Linked DNA regions of Homo sapiens: region 1 is linked to region 2. Evidence: promoter capture Hi-C in 16 types of primary human blood cells and fetal thymus (Javierre and others, 2016). All regions are on one chromosome and are shown on one strand. The core of a region is centred on a gene start or on the middle of the fragment in contact, and the rest is flanking DNA. Distances in the headings are between cores, read along the strand shown. Region 1 overlaps RRM1 (ribonucleotide reductase catalytic subunit M1). Region 2 holds the start of NUP98 (nucleoporin 98 and 96 precursor).

What was found. The method cuts DNA at HindIII sites, captures the fragments that hold promoters and counts their contacts. A CHiCAGO score of 5 or more calls a contact.
Region 1: a fragment that was not itself captured here is called in contact with the fragment with the promoter of NUP98 in region 2 in 4 of 17 cell types (total CD8 T cells, total CD4 T cells, naive CD4 T cells and 1 more); the score reaches 7.7 in total CD8 T cells.

What each region holds. Positions count from the first base shown.
Region 1 is chr11:4,133,150-4,136,729 of GRCh38, forward strand. RRM1 (ribonucleotide reductase catalytic subunit M1) reads left to right here. Exons shown (of 19, transcript NM_001033.5): 17 at 414-509; 18 at 1,933-2,121. Among named protein-coding and RNA genes, the nearest start is that of RRM1, 40 kb to the left of the region's middle. The HindIII fragment of the contact is 635 bases long and covers 1,219-1,853 here.
Region 2 is chr11:3,795,660-3,799,322 of GRCh38, forward strand. It overlaps NUP98 (nucleoporin 98 and 96 precursor), which reads right to left and starts at 1,895. Exons shown (of 33, transcript NM_016320.5): 1 at 1,741-1,895. It also overlaps a transcript of PGAP2 not described here. RefSeq lists silencers at 1,572-1,661, 1,742-1,911. The HindIII fragment of the contact is 2,489 bases long and covers 863-3,351 here.

The sequences.
Region 1 (3,580 bases), core at 286-2,785, 340 kb after region 2:
TAACGATTACCACACCACAATGTTTTTGTTGTCGATACTGTTTTTGAGAAAATGTCTCACTTTGTCACCCAGGCTGGAGTGCAGTGGCATGATCTTGGCTCACTGCAGCCTCTGCCTCCTGGGTTCAAGCAATTCTCATGCCTCAGCCTCCTGAGTAGCTGGGATTACAGGCATGCTGCGCCACCATGCCTGGCTAATTATATTGTTTCTTGAATAACAGATGTCAAGATCTTAAAGGAATATAGCTTTCGTGTGGTGGCATTGATGTCTCGTCTTTATAAAAGATAGAATTTACCAAGCAATCTAGCATTAAATAACTCTTAAGTGATTTTAGTTTAAGCTTCAAAGCTGTAGTCTTTTCTAAGCAGTCACTGTTATTTATTTCTTCATACATTTTCTGCTTTTCCATTCAGATTGTAAATCCTCACTTATTGAAAGATCTTACCGAGCGGGGCCTATGGCATGAAGAGATGAAAAACCAGATTATTGCATGCAATGGCTCTATTCAGGTATAGAATGAAAATGAAGTGTGCTCTGCAGGGGCTGAGTTGGACATTGTGGTACCTCCTCACTCATGCTAGACAATGGAGAGAATGACTTCATTGTGTTCATCTAGGTTTTGCTTGTGTAGCTCTGTTCACCTCTGCATTGTTGTGCTAGGATTGTACACATCTTTACATAACCCTTACCATCTTGTTTTTATGCAATAATATAAAAAAGTAGTTCTCAATTTTTCTGCATCTTAGAATCAACTGGGGAGCTTTTAAAATCCTGAAGCTTAGGTTGCATTCCTTACCAATTAAATGTCTAGGAACAGGAACCAGACATCAATTTTTTTTTTTTTTTTTTTTTTTTGAGACGAAGTCTCTGTCGCCCAGGCTGGAGTGCAGTGGTGGAATCATGGCTCACTGCAACCTCTGCCTCCTAGGTTCAAGCGATTCTCCTGCCTCAGCCTCCCAAGTAGCTGGGATTACAGGTGCCTGCCACCACGCCCGGCTGTTTTTTGTATTTTTAGTAGAGACAGGGTTTCACCATATTGGCCAGGCTCCTGACCTCAGGTGATCCGCCTGCCTTGGCCTCCCAGGGTGCTAGGATTACATGCATGAGCCACCGTGCCTGGCCTCAGACATCAATAATTTTTAAAGATTCTTTTGGTGATTCCAAAGTATATCAAAATTTGGGGGATCATAGATAGAAAGACTGAAATTAAGAGAGTCAAGCTTAATTAAAAATCATGGTTGACGACTGATAGTCCAAAAGACAGAGTCACAAATCGTGTAAATATTTGCAACTAAGAGTCAAGAGGCATTTATTTGCAGATAGAGGTGTCTGGCTAAATGTTGGTCTGCTTAGCAACACAGATGAAGAGTCCTATAACAGTTCCATATTTAATGACAGAAACTGTAGCATTAGCCAGTCTGTGTGTTTTAATGAAAGTTAACCCTAGGCCTAAGAAAACCTGATTTTGGATTCCAAAGGGAGTTTGAAATCCTAGCTTATTTAAAGGGTTTTATCTCATTGCTTCCCTTGGTCCCTGTGAATTACAGCCCTTATTTTTTGTGTTTTCTGCAAAACTCAAGGGTCATTTATTGCTGCTTAGCTCTGACTTTTCCTTTCTTTAAGTGCCTCTAGAAGAATGAATGTTTGGGTCATAAATCAATTAAAAAATTAAAAAATTGGTTTATGACCAACAAAAAAGGGATGCTGAAATTACTATCACCAGATTGATATTTGGTTGGTTAGATGGGGGTTTTGTTCAACTTTCTAAATAGTCTTGGTAAACTTGATAAGGATCATATCATATGATACTGAATGGTAAGGTCAGATCTGGCAGGAAGTAAAATGAAGATCAAAGCTTGTGTCACTATTCTATTAATCATACACTGCTTTCTTTAACTGGAGTAAAGTAAACATTGGGTTTTCCTTCTTTAGAGCATACCAGAAATTCCTGATGACCTGAAGCAACTTTATAAAACTGTGTGGGAAATCTCTCAGAAAACTGTTCTCAAGATGGCAGCTGAGAGAGGTGCTTTCATTGATCAAAGCCAATCTTTGAACATCCACATTGCTGAGCCTAACTATGGCAAACTCACTAGTATGCACTTCTACGGCTGGAAGCAGGTTGGTAGAGAATATCAAGGAGTACTTAATTGCCAGCTTGAGATATTTTGGCATTGGAATGATTTTATGTTTTAGCCACCTATTAAATATTATCACCTAGAAGTTCTTTAAGTTCAAATCCAGAACGTTAAAACCAACCCATGGTTTTTGTACCAGAACAGGGTCTTGCCTTGGATTTTCTTGTTTCTGTTAGGTTTATTTCCTTCTTAGGTTTGAAACCTTGTAGTTACCTGTGATGCTTTCCTTCCTTTACTGTCCGTACAATTACCAAGTTGTGTTGATTGTTCCTTTGTATTATTTCTTAAATATCTTCCTTCCTTTTCTGCTGCTGTTATTCTAAACTGACCTTATTGCTTCTAGGATCTCTGCTCCCAGCCATTTTGTGTGCATTACCACCATTCCTCAGATAAAACTTTGCACACGTCAACCCGCTATTCAAAAACATCCATTGTTTTCTCACTTTATAAAGTGAAAGCCAGCTTACTTAGCTAGTCGTTGCCAGCTGTAAAGTCTGGTGATTTTGGATTATGTTCTTATTCCCTGATAATGTATTGGGTATTTAAGTAGAATTATAAATTTGTTTTTTAATTTAACATTTATTGAACATCTAGTATGTGCCAGGACTGAGGATACTGAATAGAAGATGATGATCTTTATCTTTGAAGTCTTATAGTCTGTTGTTACACAGAGACACAGTCTAGCTCTCTAAACAGTTATAACCTAAGGCAGACATATTGTCTTGGGCAAACCTGGAAGTCATATGCATAAAAACAAAGACAAAAGAATAAAAATGTTTGACCTTTCCAAAGAGATAAGCCTGTTTTAGGAGTGAAAAGAACAGGATATTTCTGTCTGACTCACAAAGCATTTTTGAGAGTACTCCTAGAGGAGATAGAATTCCAAGTTTAAAAAAAGTTTGATCTGGTTCATGGGAATGTATTTTATTTTATGTATGTATGTATGTATTTTGAGACAGAGACTCACTCTGTTGCCCCGGCTGGAGTACAGCGGCATGATCTTGGCTCACTGCAACCTCTGTCCTGGGTTCAAGTGATTCTCATGTCTTAGCCTCCTGAGTAGCTAGGATCACAGGTGTGTGCCAACACACCTGGCTAATTTTTGTATTTTTATTAGAGATGGGGTTTTGCCATGTTGGCCAGGCTGGTCTCAAACTCCTGGCCTCAAGCAATTCACCTGCCTCGGCCTCCCAAAGTGCTCGAATTACAGGTGTGAGCCACTGTGCCTGGCCAGGAATGTATTTTATTTTATTTTAATATTATTGTTTTATTTTATTTTATACTTTTTTAGACGGAGTCTCGCTCTGTTGCCCAGGCTGGAGTGCAATGATACAGTCTTGGCTCACTGCAACCTCAGCCTCCTGAGTAGCTGAAATTTATAGGCATGTACTACCCCTCTTGGGGGATTACAGGCATGAGCCACAGCGCCCAGCCAGGAATGT
Region 2 (3,663 bases), core at 645-3,144:
TTTTACCAGCCTAATTAAAAAAACAGCTAAAATAAAAATGATATGTGCTATAAATAGAAATATCAAATAAGTGTTATGGAAGCTTGCAGAGAAGAGAATGCCAAGAAAAGCTTCCCAGAAGAGGGTGATGCCTGAACTGAGAAAATGTCACGGAAAACATACCCTGTTCACGCTTTACTATTTAGACTACGGTTCTCTTCTGCACTACTAGTTCTGAGTTTATGCTTTGTCATCTATACAAGAACAAAGTAACAATCTTACTGATGTGTACAGAACCAAGTGTCAACTAATTCAATTTCATCAAATCTGAAGAGTCAAAAAGAATAATTTTACCCAAGTATTTCCCAGTACCTTTATCCTGTCCAACCTCTAGTTTTGGTTTTTAAATACCCTAACTTCCTCCACCAGGTAAACATACTGTAACCCAGTTAACTCGAGTTTCTTTTCGAATTTGTAAGACCGTCACAGGGAATGATCACTGCTCTCTTTTTGCTCTTTATTCCAGTTAGCTTCTTCCTCCAAAACGGAGTTTTATTTCCTCACCTTATTCTACTATAATACTTCACTTTGAATTCTGTACCTGAAAGGAGCCATGAGTTCCGAGGTACAACTACTACAAACGGACTCCTACCTGGCTTTCTAAGTCTTATCAATATTTCCTGCTTTCTATTCCAGTACTGTTATAAATCCCTAACTGACTCCGAGTCCTCATCAGCTGACACAAGTCAAAAAATTCAGATTTAGAAAGGGAAACAATGGCTTGTAGTTTTACCGATTTGTTTCCGATACATAACAACGCTGACGTTCTTTAACCATCTTCTAAGTTTAGTTCTCAAGCTCTAGGTTAGGGTACCACTAACGAAGCTTCCACCTTACCCGTGAACAGAGCTGGTAGCAACTAAACGGAAAACGCTGTGAAGACTACATCTACGTTTAGCTACCTAATGTCCATGCCGCACCGACCTCCTAAAGGGAATTCTTAATAATGGGAGACTGAAATATCCAGGGAGGGTGAGGTAGTAGAAAACTGTTTAGACTGTCAAAAATCTGGCATTGGCTAATCCTGCCTGTTACTCCGGGCCTCGGTTTCCCCATCTACAAAACTGATGTAAGGTAGGGGGATTGACTTAAACAATTTCTAAAGTCCTTATGGCTATAGTAATCCAGAAACTCAATCTGTCTCCTCATCTGGCTTTACACTGAACACGTGGGAAAATAGAAAAGAACCTTTTGCTCCACCGAACCGACTCCTATTCTCAGATATTATCTTAAAAATCTCCCAAACTTCGGACTCACCCTAATCCTCGGGGTGCCCACTTCCCTTATGGAGAAGCCAAGGCAAATAAAGCCCAGTCCCACATGACGGTCAAGGAAGTGCGGGGCAGACCGTATTCAGGGTTTCAAGGCGCTGACCCCGGAAAGGCCAGCCCACCGTGGGGTCCTTACACCACTGAATGAATGAGTACAACCAGACAGACACCCACTCGCGTGGGCAGCAACTGGAGACCTCCAGGCCTAGACCCCACTGATGTCCATTCTCTCCCAGGGCCTCCAAAGCCGGGCCTCCCGGGCTCCGGGCCCCCGGGTCCTCAGCACCGCCCCTCTCTCAGGCCAGAAGGTGCGCGCAGCGGCGCTAGACTTCGAAGCGGAGAGGCCCTGAGACGCCCCGCGCGTCCGCCCGCCCGGAAGGGGGGAGAAACCTGCCGGTCTCGGCCGCTGCAGCTCGGGCTCCCGACTTACCGCGGTTCGGTGGGGAAGGGGAAGTGTCAGGAGTCCCCTGCTGCCACCCGCCGCTCACAGAGCAGCGCGCGGCCCCCACGAAACCGTCGCCGCCGCCGCTACCACCCCTGCCACCGACCGCCGCTTCGGGCGCAGCGCGCAGAGGGCCCGACTGCGTCACACGCCGCCCGGCGTCAGAGGCTCGTTGCGGACGCTCCGCCCTCGCCGTCCGCGAATTGGTGGACGCGGCCGCCACTCTGGGTCGACCCTGTTATTCATTGGGCAACGCGTCTTTTGAAACCGAACTGAAGGGGGAAGGGGCGAGAGGGAAGAGGAGGGGCAGAAGGAGTTCGGGGAGGCACAGGGTAGGAGCGGTGAGAGGGCCGTGGAGTCCCGCCCCTCGCCGCCGCGGTTGGCGGGAGCGTGTCGTGACGTCACACAGGGCCTCTCGAAGTGGGCTTGTGAATGGCTAGATTGGGAAGCACCGGCGGGGTGTCGGGAAGGGTGGTGACGCAACATAGAGACTCCGCCCCCTTCCTTGGAGCGCCGCGACTCGGGCTGAGGGAGCTCGGGCCAATCAGAGGGACGGCCCCAGAATGGCATGGTAACTATTCGACCCTTTCCTTGCCCCGGTCCGCCGGCGCTGCTGGGAAGGCTTCCTAGTCTCTCTGCCCGCACTTCCCGCCCAGACCACGTGCGGAGCCTGAGGGCCCTCTTGGAAGGTCTGTCTGTCCAAAGAGTTTGCCCGAGGCTTCTTCAGGGCCCTAAATCCTGACCCTATTCTCTCCTGACCCATGCTCGCCCCAGCACTTTCTTTCCCTCCCTGAATTTCTAGGATGGACATTAGGAGCATTAGAGATGCCCTAAGGGACTGGCCCACCAAAGGGCCTGGTACAAATGAGGATTGTTGGAACGTCTTTCCCAGCTGCACGTGGAGAACCCCTAATTCTTTTTTTTTCTTTTTCTTTTGAGATGAAGTCTCGCGTTGTCGCCTAGGGTGGAGTGCATTGGCGCAATCTCGGCTCACTGCAACCTCTGCCTCCCGGGTTCAAGCGATTCTCCCGCCTTAGCCTCCCAAGTAGCTGGGATTACAGGCGTCCGCCACCAGGCCCAGCTAATTTTTGTATTTATAGTAGAGACGGGGATTTCACTGTGTTGGTCAGGCTGGTCTCGAACTCCTGATCTCAAGTGATCCACCCGCCTCGGCCTCCCAAAGTGCTGGGATTACAGACGTGAGCCACCTCGCCCATGAACTAATTTTTTTTTTTTTTTTTGAGATGGAGTCTTGCTCTGTCTCCTCTTTCTCCCAGGCTGGAGTGCAGTGGCACGATCTCGGCTCACTGCAATCTCCGCCTCCCAGGTACAAGAGAGTCTCCTGTCGTAGCCTCCCGAGTAGCTGGGATTACAGGCACTCGCCGCCGCGCCCAGCTGATTTTGTATTTTTAGTAGAGATGGGGTTTCACCATGTTGGCCAGGCTGGTCTCGAACTCCGGAACTCAGGTGATCCGCCCGCCTCGGCCTCCCACAGTGCTGGCCTTACAGGCGTGAGCCACCGCGCCCAGCCGAACCCCTACTTATTCTTAAAGGACGGGTATTTCAAATGTTCCCATCTTCTCAGTGATACATTTGCCAAGCTTTCACAGCGAGTTGAGCTAATGCTTGGGCAGGCCTCTGTTAAAGCCTTGTCACTTTGTATCCTATTATTTACCCTCGGTTTTCTGTGCCTTGGGCTCTTCTTGGAAGTCCTTCTGGGGCCTAGCCCATTAGCAGAAAACTGATATTACAAGAGTGAAAGGTGGGCATTTTCTAGAAACTAGACCTGTTTAGTGACTGAGAGTCTCATAGCAGGAACTGTGCGCAGAAAGCAAAGCGTATACTGGCCGGGCTGGTGGCTCATGCCTGTAATCCCAGCACTTTGGGATGCTGAGGCGGGCAGATTATTTG